3 separate regions of the Homo sapiens genome follow, and regions 1 and 3 are each linked to region 2. The links are contacts of gene promoters, found by promoter capture Hi-C in human tissues and cell types (Jung and others, 2019). All regions are on one chromosome and are shown on one strand. The core of a region is centred on a gene start or on the middle of the fragment in contact, and the rest is flanking DNA. Distances in the headings are between cores, read along the strand shown. Region 1 has its middle 5.0 kb from the start of TIE1. Region 2 holds the start of IPO13 (importin 13). Region 3 overlaps SLC2A1 (solute carrier family 2 member 1).

Evidence for each region. Contacts are between HindIII fragments. The study calls those that stand out against the background at their distance.
Region 1: a fragment that was not itself captured here is called in contact with the fragment with the promoter of IPO13 in region 2 in 2 of the 25 tissues and cell types used here (adrenal gland and lymphoblastoid cells).
Region 3: a contact is called between a fragment that was not itself captured here and the fragment with the promoter of IPO13 in region 2, in 1 of the 25 tissues and cell types used here (dorsolateral prefrontal cortex).

The regions. Positions count from the first base shown.
Region 1 is chr1:43,293,696-43,298,193 of GRCh38, forward strand. No RefSeq gene overlaps it. Among named protein-coding and RNA genes, the nearest start is that of TIE1, 5.0 kb to the right of the region's middle. The HindIII fragment of the contact is 6,034 bases long and covers 1-4,285 here.
Region 2 is chr1:43,944,202-43,948,798 of GRCh38, forward strand. It overlaps IPO13 (importin 13), which reads left to right and starts at 2,749. Exons shown (of 20, transcript NM_014652.4): 1 at 2,749-3,483. The coding sequence starts at 3,400. It overlaps LOC101929609 (a long non-coding RNA gene), which reads right to left and starts at 2,398. Exons shown (of 2, transcript NR_188535.1): 1 at 2,280-2,398; 2 at 154-595. RefSeq lists a silencer at 2,545-2,794. The HindIII fragment of the contact is 10,546 bases long and covers 1-4,597 here.
Region 3 is chr1:42,950,594-42,954,922 of GRCh38, forward strand. The region is part of intron 1 of SLC2A1 (solute carrier family 2 member 1); the gene reads right to left. It also overlaps the pseudogene ATP6V0CP4. Among named protein-coding and RNA genes, the nearest start is that of SLC2A1, 6.1 kb to the right of the region's middle. RefSeq lists enhancers at 1-278, 1,813-1,882, 2,005-2,299, 2,533-3,477. The HindIII fragment of the contact is 4,431 bases long and covers 1-4,211 here.

The DNA.
Region 1 (4,498 bases), core at 19-2,518, 650 kb before region 2:
CCTGAGGATGTCGTGTCCATGCAGCTGGCCAGAGGCCGTAGACCCACTGGACAGAGCTGCCCCACCACGCTGCCCCTCCCAGCCCTGCCTGCCTGGGCCCCAGCAATACCAACGGTCATCTCTGCCACATTCTTGCTTTCTCATGGGGGCCCTGTTAGAAACGGGAAGGGAGGAAAGCTGGTGCCCACCTGAGACCCCCAGCTCTGAGACTCCAGGGGTGTTGGAGCAGTTCCCATAGAGAAATCCTCTGGGGGCAGGCACCACTTAAGTCTGTAGGAGAGGTCTCTCCCCAGGGGAGCAGGAAGCCCACACCTGTGTGCTGGTGCCATAGTTCACTCCAACTCCCCAGTGGGAGCCAGTGTCCCTTCCTTAGGGTGCGGGCAAGGGTGGAGCTGGCAAAGCACCAATATGCCTTCAGGGAGAAAGGGCTAGGGAAAGAGGAGTTGAGACACTGCCTTCAAGCCTTTCCTCATCATCCCTGTGTCACCACGAAATAAATCATGCATCATGAGCACTAATGGACTTGTGTTGTCACTACCTCTTATCCTCAAAGTAAGATTGAAGCCAGGGGTGGTAGCACACACCTATAGTCCCAGCTACTCAGGAAGCTGAGGTGGGAGCATTGCTTGAGCCCAGGAGTTCGAGGCTGCAGTGAGCTATGATTGCGCCACTGCACTCCAGCCTGGGTAATAGAGCGAGACTCTGTCTCTAAAGTAATAGTAATAATAATAATAATAATAAATAAACAAAGTAAGATTGAACAACCAGAAAGCAGCCCCCATGTGTGGCTCCTGCAAAGAATGCGTGGCTGTGGCCCGAGCCAGCTTTGTCTCATAAAATGTGTTTTGTATGCTAAGTAGGCTGCTGTTGTTTGAGGCAGAAGAACAATGAGTCACTTGTGTCATGTGCTATTGGGTGTGCTATTCTTCTAGGATTTCAGAGTGACCTGAGCTAAAGCAAGGACCTGATGGAACTTAAAGGCAAGACATCCTTAAAATTCATGCCTGCCCATCTCTCCTGGTCAGCCCTTGCCTTTTAAAGGGCACCACTCCATCATCACACAGCACAGAGTTGAGCTCATTGTTTTCCAGAATAAAATTTCAGATGCATGCTGGATACAAAAGGATTGTTTTTCTTCAATCATTTTTAAGAGTTTGAAGGATGACATGCAGATGAAAGCAGCCTCCCTGGGTGTGCTGGCCTTCTTCCTGTCTAGGTAGTATAGTCTAACAGGCCTTGGGCATAGTTAAGCTCTCTGGCTGTGGATCAAACTGTCTGGGGTCAAAGCTGAACACCATCACTTAACTAACCTGAGGATGCATCTGTTTCCTCATCTGCAAAATGGGGATCATAATAATGACACCCGGCTGGGTGCGGTGGCTCACGCCTGTCATCCCAGCACTTTGGGAGGCCAAGGAGGGCGGATCACCTGAAGTCGGGAGTTCGAGACGAGCCTGAGCCCGACCAACATGGAGAAACCCCATATCTACTAAAAAAAAATACAAAATTAGCCTGTAATCCCAGCTACTCAGGAGGCTGACGCAGGAGAATGGCTTGGACCCAGGAGGTGGTGGTTGCAGTGAGCCGAGATTGTGCCATTGCACTCCAGCCTGGGTGACAGAGCGAGACTCCATCTCAAAATAACAATAATAATAATAATAATAATAGTGACACCCATCTCAAAAGGCTGAGAGTCCATGAGGTGTAGGCATCACCTTTTCCCGGCACCTGTAAACCCGTAGCAACTGTTAGCCATTATAATTGAGGTTTGTTGGTGTTCTAGCATAAGACTCTGCATTGCTGGGTAAATTCCATTCTGACCAAAGTGGGTAAAAGTTTGTTATGCTTTACTAAGTACACTCTGAGCTTCTAACTGCCTGAACCCTATGTGGGTGTTGATTTCAGTTTCTGACCTCACAGGACTCCTCTGGGCCAAATGGCCTTTGTCAAGCAGTTTCTATAAAAGGGACTTCTTTCAGAGCCTTGTTGAATTAACTGGGGCTTCCTTTAAATAAGGGCTTGTTTTTAGAAGCTTTCTTTTTCCAACAAGGAAAAGAACACAATGGATTCCAAGTAATCTCCAGTCCTCATCACAGCTTGTCACAAACACCTGGCACGTCTTTTCTGACTAGAGTGAAAACACACACACACACACACACACACACACACACACACACACACACACACACTAGCTTCAGGGACACAGCCTCAGCCTGATGCTCCAAAAGCATTTACTGCAAACTTCCTCTCACTACAGAGTTATTTCCTGGAAGAACAACAAAAACTGTTTTTGAATTGACAATGTGGCTTTAGTTGCTGCTGAAGTTAAGTGAAAGTACCAACCATTGTTACTATTAACCTAAACAAAATCTTAAAAGAATTACTTTCTTTTTCTTTTCTTTTTTTTGGACAACAACAAGAACAAGATATTTTTCCTTTCTTTGCTGATCAGTATGAAGAATGATTTATCAGTAAAGTCAATTTCAGGCAAAGGCAGAACTTAGGAATTGGGTTAAAGTGTTGCTTATTTCAACCAAAAGAAAACTTTCTAATTTGTTTGGGCAGCATTTACTTGGTTCTTCGAAAAGCAATTGTGACAAACAGTACAGAGAGTTAAGGCACTTATTGGCATATAAAAAGATGCCAGCATTTGGAGTTGCACATAACAAAGAAATATCTTAAATACTTTTCAAAATATTCTAGGAGCCAAGACACAAGGGCATGCTTCAGGAGAACACAGGAATGTAATTTGGGAGGAAAATTGCAACTACCCCTTCCCTTTAAAATCACTGAGCAAAACAAAGCAGCATTCTACTTCACATACTGACTTTACATAGTTTATATATAATAGTTTGACTTTAAGAAGCAAAGATGGGACTCTCACTGTTTATCTTTTATTTATTCTTTTTTATTTTTTGAGACAAAGTCTCACTCTGTCACCCAGGCTGGAGTGCAATGGCATGATCTCAGCTCACTGCAACCTCTGCCTCCTGGGTTCAAGCAATTCTTGTGCCTCAGCCTCCCAAGTAGCTGGGACTACAGGCGCGTGCTACCACATCTGGTTAATCTTTTTGTATTTTTAGTAGACATGGGGTTTCACTATGTTGGCCAGGGTGGTCTTGAACTCCTGGCCTCAGGCGATCTGCCTGCCTCGACCTCCCAAAGTGCTGGGATTACAGGCATGAGCCACTGTGCCGGGCCTCTCACTATTTTGAAAAATAATTGCATGGTCACCCATGTAACCCACCCCAGTCTGGCAAGTTTAATTGGGAGAGGTCTCCGTTACTTAGAAGAGTACCAATTTGACACTTTAATTCAGATAGCCCTGACTTCATTTTTGGGGAGCAACTTAGAGAGGTTCATTCTTTCCCCCCTGACTCATCCTCTGTTGATCCAGTCCCGAATTTCACCAGCTTTTTTATGCATAATTTGCATAACAATTTCACCCAAATGGATCTCAACTGAGCATCATTTCTGCAAGAAGACTATGGAGTTTGTCTATAGAGAAAATTAAATCAAATTCATAGACATTTTTAAGAGTCTGTCAAATGTTTCCACATGTATTTACATGTGGTCTAAAACCCTAAGGGCATTGTAAGAAGCCACACAAAAGACCCAAATGAATGTTCTAAGGGGCATAAAGCAGTTTGTTGTCTGAGCCACCTGTTAAGGGAAATGAGTGGAACTTGGAGAGTCAGGCTTTCCTGTCCCTCTTGATCATGACGGTCACTTGGAGAACAGTGAGTCCAACCCGCTGGGGTGGCCACAGGGGATGGACCTTTACTAACATAAAAGAAAAATTTTTTAAAAATTCTTTGAATGGTTTCCAAATGAGCACTCCCTCCAAAGTGGAACTTAATACCACAACAGATATTCACCCTGTGCAAATACAGGTTGAGCACCCCAATCCGAAAATGTGAAATCTGAAATGCTCCCAAATTTGAAACTTTTTGAACACTTTGTGATGCCACAGGTGAAAAATCCACACCTGACCTCATGTGATGGGTCATATATATCATATGAAATATTGTTTAAAATTACCTTCAGGCTATGTGTATAAGGTATGCATGAAACATAAATGAATTCCATATTTAGACCTGGGTCTTATCCCCAAGATATTTCATTATGTATATGAAAATATCCCAAAATTCAGAAAACCTGAAATCTGAACACTTCTTGTCCCTAGCATTTTGGATAAGGGATACTCAACCTGTACATGCAGTATGAATATATATTCCTATTTTTTTCTTTTTTAGGCAAACGCTAACATACAATATACACTTCTGTACCTTCTTTTTATCACTTACTAATTAGTATGTCTTAGAGAGCTTTTAAAAACCAGTATATAGACTTGGAGAGTTTCTTCAACTAATTTCACAGCTGTTATATTTTACTGTATAGCTACATCAAAATTTATTTAACCATTTCCCCATTGATTGACACAGGAATTGGTCCTAATCTTCTGCCATTACATATAATGCTACAATGAATAACCATG
Region 2 (4,597 bases), core at 1,499-3,998:
TTAGCCAGGCTGGTCTCGAACTCCTGACCTCGTGATCCACCCACCTCAGCCTCCCAAAGTGCTGGTGGCATGAGCCACTGCGCCCGGCCTCCCGCTGAGAATTCTTAACTGCAAGCAGGCAGTCGTCTGGTTTTGCAGACCAAATTCACATGATTTTGGTAGGCTGAAAAACTTCAAAGTGATCATTTAATTTGACATGAACATGGATTGGTAGTGGTTCCAGGTGACCAACAAAAGCTCCCTCTCCTCCTCTGCTGAGTTTTGGGATGTTCCCTCCTGAATCTGCAGACCTCTCCCAGGGTTGCCACAGGTTCTTGCCCCTATAGGTCTACACTTGTTCCTTAGAGAAGAAAGAGCCCTTCTGGCTCCCAAAGACTTATCTGCCACTTGGCTCTGAGCTATCCTGCACTAACATCCAAATCTCCTGGAGATCACCTTTGGTCTGGCCTCCGGAAATGCCCCCAACTCTCCCCAGGGCCTACTTCAGTCCATCTGTCCTAAATAGTGTTTGCAAAGGATGTTCAGGAGTCATTGCTGTGAGACTGGGCTTCTTTCTCTGCCAGATCCCTGGAACCTCCAGGGATGAGGAGGAGCCCTGGATGGGAAGCAGGAAGAAAACACATACTGACTAAGTTGTGGTCTCTGGGCTGAGCCCCCCACCCCTAAAACCCCTTAACTAAAATGAGTTTCAGAAGAAGCTAAGGTCTCATTGCTAGAAAGAGGCATAAACAGGTTTTGAACTCAGGACTAAGTCCAGAATTTGTGCATTTAAACCCCACTCCCAACACCATCTCCCCTGCCCACCACCACCTCCACCAGTGAAACCGCCAGCCAGCACCAGGCCCAAGGTATTTCACACCCTAGGCACAGGCCTGGAATCAGTTACTTTATTTTGGCTTTCTATTTCCTCCTTCCAAATGTCTCCTGCCTCTCTTTCTTCCTTCAATTTGTCTTTCATGTTGCAGATTTTTCTAAAATGCAAATGTAATCATCATTGCTCACTTGAAACCCCATCATGGTTTCATATTGCACTTAGGATAATGTCCAAACTCCTACAAGAATCTATTGCCACCAACTTGTCTTTCCAACCTCATCTCTGTTACTCATACCCTTCCCCTTCCCCACCCCACATATATTCTCTTAAAATGAATATAAATTACTTACTATTCTTTCTTTTCTTTTCTTTTTTTTTTTTAGACGGAGTCTCACTCTGTCGCCCAGGCTGGAGTGCAGTGGCGTGATCTCAGCTCACTGCAAGCTCCACCTCCCGTGTTCAAGCCATTCTCCTGCCTCAGCCTCCCGAATAGCTGGGACTACAGGTGCCTGCCACCATGCCCGGCTAATTTTTTGTATTTTTAGTAGAGACGGGGTTTCACCGTGTTAGCCAGGATGGTCTCGATCTCCTGACCTCGTGATCCGCCCGCCTCAGCCTCCCATAGTGCTGGGATTACAGGCGTGAGCCACCGCGCCCGGCCTACTTGCTATTCTTTATTGATGAAGACTTGCTGAATGACTTAGAGTCCTACTGGATTTTGCTTACCAGCTAAATGGGCCCCTCTCCTTCCCAGGCTCTCTATTCTTCAAGCTCAGATCAAGTTTCTCTTCTCAGGGAAGCCTTCATGGACCTTCTCAGGCCTCAGCAGCTGCTGCCAATGCCAGCTTCCAATGCCAGCTTCCTCCATTTGAACAAAACTACGGAGCTCTTTGCACTTTTAATTTTTTCCTCTTCCCTGCTAGGGTAGCTGGCAGGAGTTAATAAACAATAAAATACAACTGGAGGGGTGACAGGCAGGAACTACCGGGGCCTGTGGCAGACCAGATCTATGGCATGGTCTGCCACCCTGTCTGTGTGCCAGGGGCAAGATAAGCCTAACTTTCCCCAAGCTCGATTTCCTCATCTCATCTGAAAATGATGAATAAAAATATCCACCTCAGAGCTATTAAGAAAACTGAACCTAAGGTAAGCAAAGTCCTGCTCCTAGCACTTAAATGTAAGCTACTCTTACTCTAGTTACACATAAAGTTACTTCCAAAAACCTTACGAAATTCCCCGAGCACTGTCCATGGTATGTGGTTTCCCGGTTGCTTATTGGGTGGTCCCGAGAGCCTTCCTTTTTTCCTTCCTGAGGCGTGCCAAGTCCCCTCTCCTCTTCTCTGGGTGGTGCTGACGCCTTCTTCCCAGGCTGCACCTTTGCTGGGCCGGAGGATGCCCCCGGCAGCGGAGCGCCAGAGTGACCAGGCAACCTCCCCAGCCTCCACCCTCTAGCCCGGGCTCCCACCTCCGTCCTCCGGCCCCTCGAGTCACGTCGTCCTACTAAGGAGTTGGGCCGCAGCGCCCCGCGCCGGTCTGACCCGGAATGCCTGCTCGCCGCGGTAGGCCGAGGACAGGCGGGGCTCTGCAGGTCCCCAACCCACGTGCTCCCGGCCTCCTCCGCAGGGCGCCGCCTTCCGGCTAGGCGCAACACGGACTACATTTCCCAGGGTGAACAGCGGCGGGGCCTAGACTCGGCCGCGGCCTGGGGCGGCGAGCCGCTCCACCGCCTGCTCAGGGGAGTGCGAGCTGGCGCGAGGACAGGGCTAAGGACCCGGAATGAGTTTCCGCGCAGTTCCGCTGGGCCGTGCCGGCCTGTACCGGGCCGTGCCGAGCCAGAACTGGCAGGAGTGGGGGCCTGAGTTGGAGGTGCCGGGGACAGGCGCTCGGGGCAGCCCGCGCCTTGCCGAGGTCCCTGCCCCGTCCCGGCCGGCCTGGCTTGTCTTGTCAGTCACTGGGGCGGAGGCAGCGGCTGTAGCGGGGCTGTAGCCGGGCGTTGAGCACAGCGCGGGCCAGGCCGAACGGAAGGGACCTGCCACAGCCCCTCAACTCCACGGACTCTTCGCCCTAGACTAGCGGAGCTGCATCTCCGCGCTTCGTTGGACGCCTCCGTAACCACGAAGGGCTCTCTCTCTCCCGTGACCCTCCAGCCCCATGACCTGTTCATAGCAGCCGAGAGCTCACCCAGGCGGGGGTGTTGTGGGTACAGGCCATCGACCCTGTGACCCCTCAAGAGCCAGGGACTCGGTTTCCCCCGCAGGCCTCCCTCCCCTGTGACTCCCTCCACACAGATTCTGGGGACAGAGCTGTTACCTGCCACTAGGATCCCCGCCTGAGAGCTCCTCACTGACGGCTCCCTCCTCGGAGTCCCCTTCATTGGGTCTCCTAAGAGCACCAATTTTGGTCTCTGGCAAGCCTCCCACCCCCAAACGAGGTGGGGAGGCCTCGGCAGCCATGCCCGCCCTGGGCCCCCCCTCACCCCACCACTCCCTGGGCACCCAAGCCGGGGTCTAGCAGGGGGCCAGCAGCCAAGGGGCTGGGGCAGGAGACAGATCAGGGCCCACCTCCCTGCCAGGGAGGGAGCAAAGATGGAGCGGCGGGAGGAGCAGCCGGGGGCTGCAGGGGCTGGAGCAGCACCAGCCTTGGACTTCACTGTGGAGAACGTGGAGAAGGTATGAGGGCTCTGGGGTGGGCACTCCAGTGACAGAGCAGAAGTTCTGGGGACTGTCACTGATGGCAGAGCTCAGGCCTGGGCTGGGTGCCCGCTGGTATGGTGCCCCCAGAGCACCTGGCATTTGCTCTCTTTCTGGGCAGGCAGTATTGCAGTGCCCTAATGGGCTATTTTTGTCTTTCCTTACAGGCAGGTCCCCTGTGGATAGATACTCTAGGGTCTTGGGATGGTCCCTTCAGGGTGCTGTGACTTAGCCTTCCGTCCAGACTGGCTATGTTCCAGCTCCATGGGAACTGCATGAGCAGTGCAGTAGGAAACTGGGAACCCAGGAGACCTGCAGCTCAGTCTCCTGGAATTATACTGATGCCAAACCATCCTGGACCTGGTTTTGTTGAGCCAAGGGCTCAGAAAATAATCTGGAACTAAAACAATCTGGGTTGTTTTGACTCTTTGGAGAAGGGTCCTTCCTTTATTGGATGGAAGCCAGACCAGTCCTGAGCAGGCAGGCCTGGGGCTGTCTCCCTTTGTTTTGTGCTGAGTCCAAGGGTCCTGGCCCTGCTGGGAGCCTTACAGGGCTCCTCCCTACTCGCCTGCCCACATAGCTCCCTGCCATGGCCCTCCCAGGCTCCCCGACTGCCCAGCCCATCTTTCTGAACTGCCTCTTTGGTTCTTTTCTGTATCTGCTCCCTACAACTTGAAATGCAGGAATGCATGCACCCTGGGATGAATGGGGAGATGGGGCTCCCTTACTTGAAAGCAGGGAATGATGTTCACTTGTTATCCTTAACCCCCGTTTGCCATAACAAACAATGAGGATGCATCTCTTCTGCCTGCTTTGGCGTCCCTGAGGGGCCAAACAAGGGCCAATGGCCATAACTGGCTGTCAGGGGTACAAATAGAGCTAAGCTTACTTGGATGGAGCCTGCTTAGGGGTCAGGGTCCTGGCCATACTCTTCCGCCCCTTGGAGCAGGGCAGTGTTGGCATGGTGGCGCACTGTTCCATGTGCTATTGGGAGATAAATCTCACTGTTTTCTTACTTCATAAAGTCCCGTTGGAATTGAGACCCCGGGGATTCTGCTAGTGGAGAGCACTAAGCTAGGTGTTTGCCAGGGCT
Region 3 (4,329 bases), core at 746-3,245, 990 kb before region 2:
GGTAAGATTGGGCACATGCAAAGTTCACTGTCACTCTCAGCAGACACATTTAAGTCCCAGCTCCTCCACTTGTGTGACCTTAAAAAAGTCCTTTCCTGGCTGGGCATGGTGGCTCACGCCTGTAATTCCAGCACTTTGGGAGGCTGAGGTGGGCGGATCACCTGAGGTCAGGAGTTCAAGACCAGCCTGACCAACATGGTGAAACCCCGTCTCTACTAAAAATACGAAAAATTAGCTGGGCGTGGGGGGCGCGCGCCTGTAATCCCAACTACTCGGGAGGCTGAGGCAGGAGAATCACTTGAACCCGGGAGGCAGAGGTTGCAGTGAGCCGAGATCGCGCCATTGCACTCCAGCTTGGGCAACAAGAGTGAAACTCCGTCTCAAAAAAAAGTCTCTTCCTCTAAGCTTCAGTTAATTCTCCATAAGAGAGGATCTTCTATGAATAAATGATATTGCTAAGGAAAGATTATGCCTGAATGCATGCTCCCAACACTCTTCTAGTCAATGGAAATTCAGCGATAAAACTATACCAAATCCCTGCCTATGGAACTTGATAGGTTAGTTGAAGGCTGGGGCAGAAAATAAATACATGTAATACATCAGGTGGTGAGTGGTATGAAGAAGGTGATGGGGCTGCTATTTCTTAATCATGGTGGGACATGCCTGTAATGAAGTATTATGCAGCTATTGGAAAGAATGAAACACATCTGTGTTTCACATAACATGTATGTGTTATGAAGAGTACCAGGGTAGATTGTTCAGGGGGGAAAAAAAGCAATAGGATGTACATATTGTGTAAGGAACAGGGAGTTAGTGAACTTGTATAGTGGCACTTGGTTGTATGTGCAGAGAGAAACACTGCCAGTATTTACCTCTAAGGGTTGGTTTGGTGAACAGAATGGGTTGCAAAGAACTATGCAGAAAGTGGGATCCAACTACACAAATATTCTATTTATAGGCATGTATCTACACATGCACAAAGAGAAGTCTTTAGGGTAAACACCAAACTGTCAAAACTAGAAGACACTCTTTCATTTATTATGCTTCTCTGTAGTTGGCTCTGTAACTTCTGAAGCTTTTTTTTAATCCAATTTTTTTTCCAGTCACATCTAAGAACTTTATTGGACACAGCTTGGATGCCAGGACCTGGTAGGCCCCACACACTGCCTGCTAGGCCCTGGACTGTCCAGGGCTGGAGTGAGGGTAGTTCATGCAAGGAAGTGTCAGACCACATGGTAACCCCACAATGCAACACTGTGGTTAGAGACTTTATATAGCTGGGAGATGGAGGGCTGCCCCACAGATGTATGAACAGGTCCAATCTTCCATAAATAAACCTACAGAAGAGAGAAAATTACACTGGAATTCATCCTTAGACGCAGAGTACCCTAGATGGGAGGGGGCATCCTCACTGGTCAGGGGGCCAGGATGGGTGATGAGGGGGCCCAGATATCCACAGCATGGGGCAGGCAGGGGCAAGGATGGGGTCAACAGATGATGGGCATTTGCACTAGGACACTGCATTCACAAGACCAACTACTGAAGGGATATGTGTCTCAGGCTGTTCATTCTGGAATAAGCAGGGGTGATCTTTATATCACATTCTGTGGCTGGTGGGCTCAAAGGCTACTTTGTGGAGAGAATGAGACCATGCAGTGAAAATGAGGATCAGGATCAAGCCCACAAATAGCCCGGGCTTCTAGGCAGCACTGTGTCCCCCACAGTGCTGATGACATAGCTGGCTGCCGGGCCACTCAGGCCCACACTCAGCCTAGCGCTTGGCTGGAGGAGATTCCCGTAGAGGCTGATGCAGTCGATCAGCGAGTTGGGGATAAGGACTTCCATCACCAGGTTGTAGATGGTGATGATGCCAGCCATGACCGCTGGGACACTGGACTTCAGGATCAGCTCCAGCCGCATAAGGGCCAGGGCCACGAGGCAGTGCTGCTCTAGGCTGTGCCACAGACAGCACACAGGGCTGTGGGATGGAGGCAAGGCGAGCCCAGAGCAGAATCTGTTTACCTGGGGCCAGAACCCTCTGGGAATAGCTTCTGCACAGCTGTGAGGGCCACACCCAAGTTATCACACGCAGCAGGGAGCTGAAGGCAGCCCCCACCTAGGGGCAGGAAGTCCTCAAGAAGAACTGCCACAGCTGGGTGATCAAGGAGCCCAGTGTAGCTGTTTGTTTCTTTCCTTGAACTGGGCCCTCCAGCCCAAGAGAGTCCACCTCTTCCTCCAGCAGAGGTGCTTATGGCTAGCTGGCCTGTCTGGGCTCCCACTGTGCTATGAAACCCAATCTGTGCTGCTCAGCACTCCCCAAGCCTGCTGCACAGACCACATGCTCCCCTGGAGCCTCAGTGCCGCTGACCCAGACAGCTAGCTCTCATCCCCAGTACAGCTGAGGACACAAGCTCCAACAAGAAGTGTGGCTGGCCTAAGGTCCAATGGTAGAGCTGTTTCTGATGGAGCCGTTTCCTCCCCACTCCCAAATGCCAGGGCAGGGGGAGATAAACTGGGCTAGGAGACATAGGCAGACTTCCTGTCCAGCAGAGGCCTCAGTAGCCAAAGGCTCCATCAGCTGAGGCCTGGCAAGAGCTCTCTCCCATTCCAGGGTGCAGAAGCCTCAGGGAGGCAAGTCAGTGTGGTCACAAAGAGAGGAGATGCTGTCTTCTTTCTGCCCAGGTTCAAGGCCTGGGAGCCCTGCTCAGTTACTGCAAAACCCTAATGTTTATGCATCAGCTACTGCCAGGCCTGGTGGCTGGAAGACAGAGCCTCAGGCTCCAGTCCACCCCTCCCGTGGAGAGAGGTAACAATTGGAGGCTTGTTAGGGTAGCCAGGGCTGGGCCTGCAGGCCTGGACACAGCCTCTCTGAGCCCATGAATCTGGTCAGGAGGCCTCCCAGCCTCCGCCATCATGGGGACGTCGGTTACCAGACTGCAGACTGAGTGAGCGGCTTTATCACCTTTATGCCCAGGAGTGAGGTGGGGGAAGGGGTGAGGTTGCAGGCCCCAAGCCAACACTGCACACTTTCCTCTTTGTTCCAGGCCTCCCCAGCTTTGCCAGTCTTGGGGAAGCAGGGAGCTGGATGGCTGTACCCTTGGTACTTGAGCAGAGCTCTGGGCCGACACCCCGTGACCAGGAGGCACTGGGCAAAGCTGAGCTCCTTGAAGTCACAAGCTGATTACGGGGGATTTGAGGCTGGCCCAGCTCCGGGGCAAATAGGGTCGAATCCCTGGATGGCTCGGTACTAGACAAGGATCATCTTGGGGCTGTTTACATCATTTGTACACCCAGACTGGCCTTACAAAGGGTCTTTCCACTTAAAATAGCCACTTCTCTAATTTAGGGCACGGGGCCAGTCTCACCACATCCACTGGGGGTAGCCAAGTCTCTATTTACTGAGAAGGAAACCAAGGCTCCAAGGAAAGCCACTTCTTCAAGGTCAGAGTTTAGTGGGAACATCTAGTGTTTTGTTTCCATTCACAGTAGAGTTTCAGTTGTCAAGTTACGTCTAATCCAACTTTCAGGCTCCTATGGCATGGCAAGTCCTGTGTCTGGGGATTCCTGCTCATTTGGGGTGGGTGGAGGATGGCACAGACAGGCATGTGGAGAAGAAAGCATCTTTAAAAAAAAAACACAGCTAGGCCAGGCGCGGTGGCTCACACCTGTAATCCCAGCACTTTGGGAGGCCGAGGTGGGCGGATCACCTGAGGTCTGGAGTTCGAGACCAGCTTGACCAACATGAAGAAACCCCATCTCTACTAAAAAAAAATACAAAAAAATTAGCCGGGCATGGTGGCACATGCCTGTAATCCCAGCTACTCGGGAGGCTGAGGCAGGAGAACCACTAGAACCTGGGAGGCGAAGGTTGTGGTGAGCTGAGATTGTGTCATGGCACTCCAGCCTGGGCAACAAGAGCGAAACTCCGTCTCAAAAATCAAAACAAAACACAGCTCCATAGAACGCCTCAAATCTTTTGTGATAGCCTTATCTCGGACAAATCTCTTCCCTTCTCTGGACTCAATTTCCCCATTTGTCAAATGGAGGGCTGGGCCATGGCTGGAAGGCCCCTCCTGCTCTGGGTTCCTTCCACCCTCTAATGTCATCCTGGAAAGGCTGGCAGCATGTCTTGGGGTGGGAGGCTCAGTGTGTGATCTTGGCAAAGTCATTTTTTATTGGACCATGAGGTCACTGTAACTTGTATCACAGGGCAGTTGTGAGGACCCTTGGAGTTAATGGACATGAATGTCCCTTTCAAACTATCCCAAGGGTGACCCAAATTCAGAAAGGTAGGCAGGAAGCCTAAGGCAAAAAAGCAAAGCAAAGAAG